Linked DNA regions of Homo sapiens: regions 2 and 3 are each linked to region 1. Evidence: promoter capture Hi-C in human tissues and cell types (Jung and others, 2019). All regions are on one chromosome and are shown on one strand. Each heading gives the region's core, a stretch centred on a gene start or on the middle of the fragment in contact. The rest is flanking DNA. Distances are from core to core; before and after follow the strand shown.

The links. The method cuts DNA at HindIII sites, captures the fragments that hold promoters and counts their contacts. A contact is called where the count stands out against the background at its distance.
Region 2: a contact is called between a fragment that was not itself captured here and the fragment with the promoter of TAOK2 in region 1, in 1 of the 25 tissues and cell types used here (hippocampus).
Region 3: the fragment with the promoter of ZNF688 here is called in contact with the fragment with the promoter of TAOK2 in region 1 in 2 of the 25 tissues and cell types used here (aorta and hippocampus).

What each region holds. Positions count from the first base shown.
Region 1 is chr16:29,971,909-29,975,377 of GRCh38, reverse strand. TAOK2 (TAO kinase 2) reads right to left here and starts at 1,510. Exons shown (of 16, transcript NM_016151.4): 1 at 730-1,510. It overlaps TMEM219 (transmembrane protein 219), which reads right to left. Exons shown (of 6, transcript NM_001083613.2): 6 at 2,330-2,428. LOC124903762 reads right to left here and starts at 1,756. Exons shown (of 2, transcript XM_047435036.1): 1 at 1,598-1,756; 2 at 743-1,381. The coding sequence starts at 1,756. The coding sequence ends at 743. RefSeq lists enhancers at 420-549, 256-1,027 and a silencer at 1,451-1,820. The HindIII fragment of the contact is 10,689 bases long and covers 1-2,073 here.
Region 2 is chr16:30,634,476-30,637,944 of GRCh38, reverse strand. No RefSeq gene overlaps it. Among named protein-coding and RNA genes, the nearest start is that of PRR14, 15 kb to the left of the region's middle. RefSeq lists an enhancer at 2,577-3,469. The HindIII fragment of the contact is 7,557 bases long and covers 1-3,469 here.
Region 3 is chr16:30,570,164-30,573,632 of GRCh38, reverse strand. ZNF688 (zinc finger protein 688) reads left to right here and starts at 1,919. Exons shown (of 3, transcript NM_145271.4): 1 at 1,919-2,199; 2 at 2,510-2,623; 3 at 3,197-3,469. The coding sequence starts at 2,004. RefSeq lists a silencer at 1,912-2,151 and an enhancer at 3,014-3,469. The HindIII fragment of the contact is 17,900 bases long and covers 1-3,469 here.

The sequences.
Region 1 (3,469 bases), core at 261-2,760:
CCACTGTGTGACCTTGGGCAACCTCTCTCGGCCTCAACGTTCTCAACTGTAAAATGGGAAGATGCCAATAAAAGAGGCCCCCACAGGGTGAATGCGGGGATGTCACATGAGAGAATGGCTGTCAAAGCACTTTGTAAAAGACAGATCGTTTGACAAATGGATGAGATTATTGACACCATCACAGCAAGAGGTTGGAAGGTAACTGCAGCTGGGGGAAAACATTGCCAGGCACCTCCAAGCACACACACACACGCATACACACAAACACATATACACACACTTCCTTGCAAGGACAAGAAATCCAACCAGACCAGGCCTGAAAAGCAGATAAGCAGACCCACCATGGGAATCAGAGGCATGGGAATCAAAACCACAGAATAGCCAGGAGAACGGGACATATCAGGGAGGAGAGGTGGCTGTGAGGGGCAAAGTGAAGGAGAGAAGACTGAAGTGCAAATCCATCTGATTAGCTGAAGCACCCTAGGGTGTGAACGCCGGTGACATCAGAGACCCTGTCACCTGAGGTCCCCCACCAACCAGACACAATGAAGGGAAGAGGAAGGGGAAGGGGGTGGCAACAGAAGGCAAGGCTAGCCAGAGGCTGACCACTCGCTCAGCTGGGCTTCCCCATCCTGAGAGGGCCTACCCAAGTCCAGCTTCTCAGAAAGGCGCACCCTTTCTTCTCAGAACTAGACACAGGGACCCGCGCCCCTGCACCCCGTGTCTCACCTGGTAGGGGTCACTATGGTGCCCCAGCGCCTCCGCTTCCGCCTGGGGTCCTCCAGCGGCTCTGCCAAGCAGGGAGAGGGGCAAGGAGACCTTTCCCCTTGCCACCTCTTCCTCGGCTTTCGCCCTTCCTGAGGGGCGGGCCCGGGAAGCCTCCCCTGGAGGGGAGGGGGTGACAACCTAATCTGACCTCGCGGTCCAGTCCTCCCCCTCGTCGAGGGCGACAGCTGCCGAATTCCGGATTTCTGATTGTGGGGTCTGAACCCCGAATATCTGAACGGGATGGAGACTGAATCCGATATTTGAACGCCCGGGGAATGAACCCCGGATACTGGTGCACGCAGGGGCCTGAACCTGATATTTGAAATTCTATGAAACAGAGACCCAGGTTTAGAGAGGTTGGGACCCGAGTCCCGGATATCTGGACTATGAGGACTGTTACCCGGGTATCTGAGAAAGGAGGAGGGGCAAAGCCTGGAAATTTGGGACCCAGGGGCCTGAGCTGTAGGTCTTCGGCCACCGACTGGGGGCCCACCCCGAGGACGTCCGGCCGCACGGCCCCTCTCACGCCGGGGTCCGAGGGTGACAGCCCCCACTCCCGCCCCGGCCTCCTCCCTCTCCCTTCTCTCTTCCGAGAATAGCTGAACGATTGTAGCTAAGGTGCTGCTGACGGTCCCCGCGCCCTCTCTGCCTCTCCTCTTCTCCGTCTCAGCCTCTCTCCGCACCACAGCCCCGGTCTCGTCCCGGTCTCCCTCTCCCTCTTCCTCCCAATTCCAAGATGGAGACCGGGCGGGAGCGCGCAGGCGCGGTAGGGACGCCGGGCTAAAGGGGGCGGGGGCGCAGAGGACTCAGCCCCGCCCTCTCTCCTCACTGCCGCGGCCTGGGAGACCGGCAGCCGCCAAGCCCGAGTGCGCGCCCGCCCCGCCACGCGGACCCCAGGCCGGAGGAGGCGGGGAGAAGAGCTAGACTTGCAAGGGGAGGAGCCCGGCACTCTGTCCCACGACTGGCGGTGGACAGAGCTGCAGCGCATGCGCTCGCCCCGCCTTCGCTCTGAGCCCGAGCTTGTTGCTAGGGGAAGCTTTGAGGGGGCGCGGGTGGACGGACAGCAGCGGCGATCTGCGACTGCGCGCAGGGTGGAAGTTGGGAGGGGCAAAGGAAGCTGCTGCTGGGCGCGGAAAAGGCGGGAAAATAGACTGCTCCGAGGTTAGCAACCATCTAACCTGGAAAAGGGCCTCCAAGTGCGAGGAATCTTTGCGCGTCGACGCTGGGAAAACTCAATCGGTCAAATCTCTTACGGAAATTGAGGCGCTGCAGGTTGCAAGACTTGCCAAGGTCACAGTGCATTTATGTCACAGCATTTCCATGACCTGACACCCCACCCGCCCAACTAACTGTAATTATCCATTTTATTTCGTAGAAGAAAACAAGACAGGTGTTTACCAAAGCCAAGTCAACCATGGGGAGAGCTCAAGTAACCTATGCCCTATGCCAACCTGTGTCCAAACTAGAGAGTCAACAGGAAAGAGTCCCCCAAAACTTCTAAGCCTGCCTACCCTAAAATCCCCACCTCAATCCAACCCCCAATAAACACCATACACGCCACTGGGCAAAAAAGCTTTTTATTTTCCCCCACATTCCAGCTCTTCACTTTTTCTAAAACCTTTTCCAACTCAGAGCCAAGGCCCAAGAAGTTGATTCACACCTGGGGAGAAAGAAAATAAAACAACAAAACAGGTCGAAGAGCTGCTAGAGGAAGCTCTGAGATGTGTGCAGAAATTGAGGAAGGAGCAGAGGGAGTGACAGCTAGAGACCAATACGGGCATTTAATCCCAACTAAGGTAGCCTCAGGACCCCAGGGTCTGTCAGGGGCCAGGAAGCCCTCCTTTCCCAGTCCAAGGTTGAGAGGGTCCTGTCATTTCCTGTCCCAAGTAGGTGGTTGGGGCATTTAGGCCCAGCCATCAGCAAAATAAGCACAGTTGATCTTGAGCTTCCACTTCCTCTGGCCTGATCAGTTCCCTGGGCCTCAACTATTTCCACTTTTCCCATAGTAACTTCCTAGGGCACTGCAGCCAGCTGAAGCTGAGACCAGTTCAAGAGCTGGATGCATAACACATGGCTCTCAAATTTCATGCACCCCCCTCTGACAAGTGAAGATTTTTTGCAGAAATATTTTTTCCTTTAGTGAGCTGATGTGTGAACTGGTTAACCAACATGACCCCCACCCACTGCTACGTTTGTGAAGCTGATTCCCTCCAAAGATCTTGTTAACGGAATCAGCTTTTTCTAAAGGTAACGATGACTAAATGGAAGACAGAAGGTGCATGTCAAGTTCTTGGGCACATACTATGTCCCCAGTAAATGAGTATCATCAGTTAGACTCTTCTGAGCGGTTCAAGTTGAATTTTACAAAATTTCCATCATAAAACTGGGTATTGGAATTTCAGGACAAAAGCAAGACAAACATGGTTCATATTCAGGACAAATCATCAAATGTGAACCCTCTTAACTCACCATTGTTACCCAAATGCTTGGATGTGAACTAGTTATGAGTCTTAAAATCACAATGTTGCTTGAAAGAAGTCAGCCACAAAAGAATGTGTATGATTCTGTCTACATAGTTTCAAAAATAAGTAAAACCAAACTATATTATTTAGGAATACATACATGGCAATACATTATAAAGCAGGACAGTAATTTCTAGGGAGAGAGAGGGCATTGTCAGGAAGGAAGGGACCATGGGGGG
Region 2 (3,469 bases), core at 474-2,973, 660 kb before region 1:
ATTATTATTTTTTGAGATGGAGTCTTGCTCTGTCGCCCAGGCTAGAGTGCAGTGGCACGATCTCGGCTCACTGCAAGCTCCGCCTCCCAGGTTCATGCCATTCTCCTGCCTCAGCCTCCTGAGCAGCTGGGACTACAGGCACCCGCCACCACACCCAGCTAATTTTTTGTATTTTTAATAGAGACGGGGTTTCACCGTGTTAGTCAGGATGGTCTTGATCTCCTGACCTTGTGATCTGCCCGCCTCGGCCTCCCAAAGTGCTGGGATTACAGGCTTGAGCCACCGCGCCCGGCCTTACTATTATGTTTTTTTGCGATGGAGTTTCACTCTTGTTGCCCAGGCTGGAGTGCAATGGTGCGATCTTGGCTCACTGCAAGCTCTACCTCCTGGGTTCAAGTGATTCTCCTGCCTCAGCCTCCTGAGTAGCTGGGATTACAGGCGGATGCCACCACGCCCGGCTAATTTTTTTTTTTTTTTTTTAGAGTTTCGCTGTTGTCCAGGCTGGAGTGCAATGGCACGATCTCAGCTCACTGCAACTTCCGCCTTCCCAGTTTAAGCGATTCTCCTGCCTCAGCCTCCTGAGTAGCTGGGATTACAGGCACCTGCCACCACGCCCAGCTAATTTTTTGTATTTAGTAGAGAAGGGGTTTCACCATTTTGGCTAGGCTGGTCTCCAACTCCTGACCTCAGGTGATCTACCCACCTTAGCCTCCCAAAGCGCTGGATTATGGACATGAGCCAATGCGCCTGGGCAGAAATGTGGTTTTTTTTTTTTTTTTTTTGAGACTGAGTCTCACTCTATCACCCAGGCTGGAGTGCAGTGGTGCGATCTCAGCTTGCTGCAACCTCTGTCTCCTGGGTTCAAGCTATTCTCGTGCCTCAGCCGCCTGAGCAGCTGGAATTACAGGTTCACACAACCACACCCAGCTAATTTTTGTATTTTTAGTACAGATGGGGTTTCATCATGTTGGCCAAGCTGGTCTTGAAGTCCTGACCTCAAGTGATTGGCCCGCCTTGGACTCCCAACGTGCTGGGATTACAGGCATAAGCCACCGCACCTGGCCAGAAATGTACTTTTAAAATGAAGGGTGGCCGGATGCAGTGGCTCACTCCTGTAATCCCAGCACTTTAGGAGGCTGAGGCATGAAGATTGCTTGAAACAGGAGTTCGAGACCAGACTGGACAACACAGTGAGGCCCCGTTTCTGGGCACACTTGTGATTTCAGGCACAAGTCACCACGTGGGGGCTTCATCTAATTATTACCTCTGTATATTTTCCATGGTTTCCCATCTTTTACCTCTTTCATTACTACTGCATTTGTTTAGATTCTATCATCCTTGAAGGTCCAGCTGCAACAGCAGCCCCACCCATGCGTCGAAGCCTTCTGAGGTCTTTCCTTCTTCTGAGCTTCTAGGGCATCTTTTACTGTCCCTTCTGCCCTCCAATTGTGCCACCACCAGCCTGGCCAACATGGCGAAACGCCACCTGCTAAAAATACAAAAATTAGCCGGGTGTGGTGGCACATGCCTGTAATCCCAGCTACTCAGGAGGCTGAGGCAGGAGAATTGCTTTAGCTCTGGGAGGCGGAGGCTGTAGTAAGCTGAAATAGTGCCACTGCACTCTAGCCTGGATGACAGAGACTCTGTCTCTAAATAAATAAATAAATAAATAAGCAGGGCTCGGTGGCTCACACTTGTACTCCCAGCACTTTGGGAGGCTGAGGTGGGTGGATCACCTGAAGTCAGGAATTCGAGACTAGCCCGGCCAACATGGTGAAACCCTGTCTCTACTAAAAATACAAAAATTAGCCAAGCATGGTAGTGCGCACCTGTAATCCCAGCTACACGGGAAGCTGAAGCAGGAGAATCGCTTGAACCTGGGAGGCAGAGGTTGTAGTGAGCTGAGATCGCATCATTGCACTCCAGCCTAGGCAACAAGAGCGAGACTCCATCTCAAAACAAACAAAACAAACAAACAAACAAAATGCTGCTCACCTCAGAGGACTAGATGGAGAATTTTTTTTTTTTTGAGTCGGAGTTTTGTTCTTGTTGCCCAGGCTGGAGTATAATGGTGCGATCTCAGCTCACTGCAACCTCTGCCTCCCGGGTTCAAGCGATTCTCCTGCCTCAGCCTCCCGAGTAAGTGGGATTACAGGCATGCGTCACCACGCCCGGCTAATTTTGTATTTTTAGTAGAGACGGGGTTTCACAATGTTGGTCGGGCTGGTCTTGAACTCCTCACCTCAGGTGATCCGCCCGCCTCAGACTCCCAGAGTGCTGGGATTACAGGTGTGAACCACCGTGCCCTGCCTGGATGGGGATAGTTTTGTAAACTATAGAGTGCCCCCAATTTTTAGTAAAGTTACAAAGAATTTTCACACATTTTGAGTTTTATGGAGCTAGAATGCACATCACAAATACACCTATTTGAAGTGTACAATTCAATTTTTGTGCTAGCATGAAAATTTTAGTGCACTTTCATGACCACAAAAAGAAACTGCATATTCATTAGCATTCACTCCCCATTCCCCCTAGTCCTTCTTTTTTTCCCTGGGCCATAGCGTCTGGCCAATGAAACGGATTTTTGTGCTAGCGCGGCCACAATCAGTACTAGTACATTTTCATCACCCCAGAAAGAACCTCTGTATTTATTAGCATTCACTCCCCTTTCCCCGAGTCCTTCTATAGATTTGTGTATTCTAGATATTTCATATTTTATAAAACACCTTCACACATTTTTACTTGACTTCCAGGATTTTTCTTTTCTCTCTTTTTTTTTTTTGAGACAGAATTCCGCTCTTGTTGCCCAGGCTGGAGTGCAATGGCGCGATCTCGGCTCACCACAACCTCTGCCTCCCGGGTTAAAGCGATTCTCCTGCCTCAGCCTCCAGAGTAGCTGGGATTACAGGCATGCGCCACTACGCCCGGCTAATTTAGTAGAGACGGGGTTTCTCCATGTTGGTCAGGTTGGTCTCGAAGTGTGATCCGCTCAAAGTGCTGGGATTACAGGCGTGAGCCACCGTGCCCAGTCCAGGAGGATTTTTCTTTGTAAGAACCTTTTACAATGATCTGTGGGGGTCCATCCCTCCTATTTTACAGGAGAAAATAGACGGTTATCTAGGCTTTGTGAGTGCCAAGTTCGCACGCGGCTTTCGACTCCGTGGCTACATTGTCGGGCCGGGATTTCGCGATTTCGAGGAGGGATGCTCGGCCTCCTCCTACTAGCGTGGTTGGGGCCTCGGCCAGGGCCGAGTTCCGCGGGGGAGAGCCCCAGGGTTCTGCCACCGCACCGTTGACCTAGAATGCACGTGGGGACAGCCAAAGGTCCAGTCTCCAGTCTCGGAACCCGCGGGCCCCCGAACACGTCTGCCTGCTTGGTCTTCTTTGAACCCAAGTCCCACCGCCCACCAGGATCCTAATGACGCCGGCCTGGGGAACTCCCACGCACGCGCCGTTCAAACGCCCCGCC
Region 3 (3,469 bases), core at 670-3,169, 600 kb before region 1:
AGGGCTGGCAGGGGAGCCAAGCAAGTAGATCCAGAGCCAGAATGACAGCAGGGACCTGGTAGGCCTTGCTTGTTATCTCCAGCAACCAGCCCCACGCTTAGCAAACAGTATTCTGCATCCTGTATGATTGCAGGTATATTCCAAATGTGGGGATGAAGGCAACTAGTATTTACAGTCCAATGCCACCAGCCATGAGGATGACCCATCTTGGCTGAAAAATAAAGACCTTAAATCTAGGAAGCGGAAGATACAACCCAGGACAGCAGGAAGGGGAGACCCGGTATGAGAAGAACTGAGGCCCAACCCAGTTTAGAGAGGAGACTGAAGGCTAAAGGAGGAAGGTTTCCCAGGAAAAAAAAAATTAGGATTTGAAAGTTGATGCTATCTTTGATAATTTGGAACAACGTAAATAAGTAGAAATGGCAGGGCCGGGCGCCGTGGCTCACGCCTGTAATCCCAGCACTTTGGGAGGCTGAGGCGGGAGGATCACCTGAGGTCGGGAGTTCGAGACCAGCCTGACTTAATATGGAGAAACCCCGTCTCTACTAAAAATACAAAATTAGACGGGCATGGTGGCTCATGCCTGTAATCCCAGCTACTTGGGAGGCTGAGGCAGGAGAATCGCTTGAACCTGGGAGGCGAAGGTTGCGGTGAGCCTAGATAGCGCCATTGCACTCCAGCCTGGGCAAGCCGAGATAGCGCCATTGCACTCCAGCCTGGGCAACAAGAGTAAAACTCCTTCTCAAAGAAAAAGTAGAAATGGCTGGGAACCGTGGCGCATGCCTGTAATCACAGCACTTTGGGAGGCCGAGGCAGGAGAATTGCTTGAGGCCAGGAGTTCCAGACCAGCCTGGGCAACATAGCAAGACCCTGTCTCTGTTTTAAAATTTAAAAATTAGCCAAGCATTGGGTGTGCGCCTGTGGTCCCAGCTACTCGGGAGGCTGAGGTGAGAAGATCGCTTCAGCCCGGGAGGTCGAGTCTGCAGTGAGCTAGGATCGCACTGCTGGGCCACAGAGCAAGACCCTGTCTCAAAACAAACAAAAAATAAATTCATGTATGTTAGCAACAATTACTATTTAATTTAAAACTTCCCCATTCCGATTCCATCCTCACCAAGCACGTTCCTTCGCCTGCAGCTTCGGTCTAGAGCCTGAGCGAGCCGAGCTGCGGATGCCAGGGGCTGGGTGGACTCCGCAGCTAAGCTACTGTAAAACACGCACCTGCTTCTACCGCGGGTGTACACATGGTTTGCCAGGGTGTGCGCGTCTTCCCAAGGGGTCTGGGGACCAAATTCCAGCTCCCGCCATCGGGAGGCACGGTAAGAGACCGTAGGGGACACAATCCCGAGCACCGCAGATGCCGAGGTCTCCGCTGCGCTCCAGTCTGTCAACAGAGGCTTCAGGACCGCGGGGTCCCTTCAAATGCCCCGCCAGTCCCAGGCCAATCACCGCGCAGCTTCTTCCGGGATCGTCGCCAATCATCGGCCGTTGCGTATTGCGGGTACAGAGGGGTAAGTGAAGCTTCGGGCCCTTACATCTTTCTTGAAGGCAAGAAGCCTCTCCTCTACTTCCCAGACACCCCGCCTCCCCCACTAGAAAAAGCAGCCGAAGCGGCTTTATTTAAGGGCAAGTGGGACGATGAGGCCAGAGAAGTCAGAAAGGCTCCATATTTGATATGGTCAAATAATGGCGCCCTTAAGAGCAGCCTGTGACAATTGAAGGGTGGTCGCCATATTTTCAGAAGGCACCTTCCGGGTCCCTTAACCCGGGTGTCTATGTCCAAGCGGCCATGAAGTGAATAAACACTGAGGAATTATATTTGTCCCTATCAGAATCCTCGAATCCCTAGCAGCCAGTCCCTGCTACTTCGGTTGCCTCGGCTGCGTTCGGACGCCACGGCTGGGCGGGGCCGCCCTTCCTGTGGACAACGACAGCTGAGGCCGGGAGCGGGGAGGCGGCGGCTCCAGGGACCTGGCGGCCGCCGATCGGGGCTGCGAGGCCCCATGGCGCCGCCCCCAGCCCCGCTCCTGGCGCCGAGGCCCGGGGAGACCCGGCCTGGTTGCAGGAAGCCCGGGACTGTGAGCTTCGCGGACGTGGCCGTGTACTTCTCCCCGGAGGAGTGGGGCTGTCTGCGGCCCGCGCAGAGGGCTCTGTACCGGGACGTGATGCAGGAGACCTACGGCCACCTGGGCGCGCTCGGTGAGAGCCCCGGGTCCGAGCCCCCTCCTCCTTCACCGGGTTCACAGGGGAGATGATGTAGAAGGGCCGAGAGGACTGTGAGCCCTAATCCCGCACTCTTGCACCAACACCAGCAGCCACCTCCCGTTCCCAGGGCTTCAGGTACCCCCTCGGGAGTGTTTTCACCCGCATCCATTTCATTCAGGCAGCAGCACTGCAGCCCCTTCCAGGTTGAGTATAAGCTCCGAGGGGGTGCCCTCAGCCTGGAGGGGAATGCCATCTTCCCACGATGGCCTCTCAGGCCCGCGCTGTGATCCCTGTTCTCTCCCAGGATTCCCAGGCCCCAAACCAGCCCTCATCTCTTGGATGGAACAGGAGAGTGAGGCTTGGAGCCCCGCCGCCCAGGATCCTGAGAAGGGGGAAAGACTGGGAGGAGCTCGGAGAGGTGAGGGATAGTCCCGGGTCCCCCCACTTGGTTTTCCAGGGCTTCCTGTCTAGCAGAGTTTCTTTTCAGGCCCCCACTTCCAGCATCCCTAAAGAAATTCAACTGTGTTGGGTACTAGAGGAGTAAAGAAGGCAGACCTGGTACAAAGTTTTCAGAACATGGGACAGCGGTCCTGTGAGGACTGGGAGCCCAGTCCAACCAGGCACTCCAGCCTGGGTGACAGAGTGAGACTCCGTCTCAAAAATAAATAAATAAATAAATAAATAAATAAATAAATAAATAAATAATAGCCCCTGCTTCCTGAGCACTTCCTAAGTGCTTAACATGCATCTACTCAGCTAAACCAGTAACGCTGTGAAGTCAAAAGCCATTATTATTCCCATTTGATGCATAAGGAACCAAGGCTCAGATAAGGCACTTTTAGGAGATCTGAATCCTGTTTACCTTGTTCTAAAGCCTGTGTGTTAATCACTGGACAGAACTTCCCTCACTGCCTTAAGTGAAAAGCATTCTATAACCTGAGACAGTCTGTGCAAAAGTGTTTGTAAGTGTAACTTAATTCCGGTTTCCCAGGAGATGTCCCAAACAGGAAGGAAGAGGAACCGGAGGAAGTCCCAAGAGCCAAAGGGCCTAGAAAGGCTCCTGTGAAGGAGAGTCCTGAAGTGCTGGTGGAACGCAACCCTGACCCAGCTATTAGCGTGGCCCCGGCACGGGCACAGCCACCCAAAAATGCTGCCTGGGACCCGACCACAGGAGCACAGCCCCCGGCACCCATACCCAGCATGGATGCTCAGGCCGGCCAGCGGCGCCACGTGTGCACGGACTGCGGCCGCCGCTTCACCTACC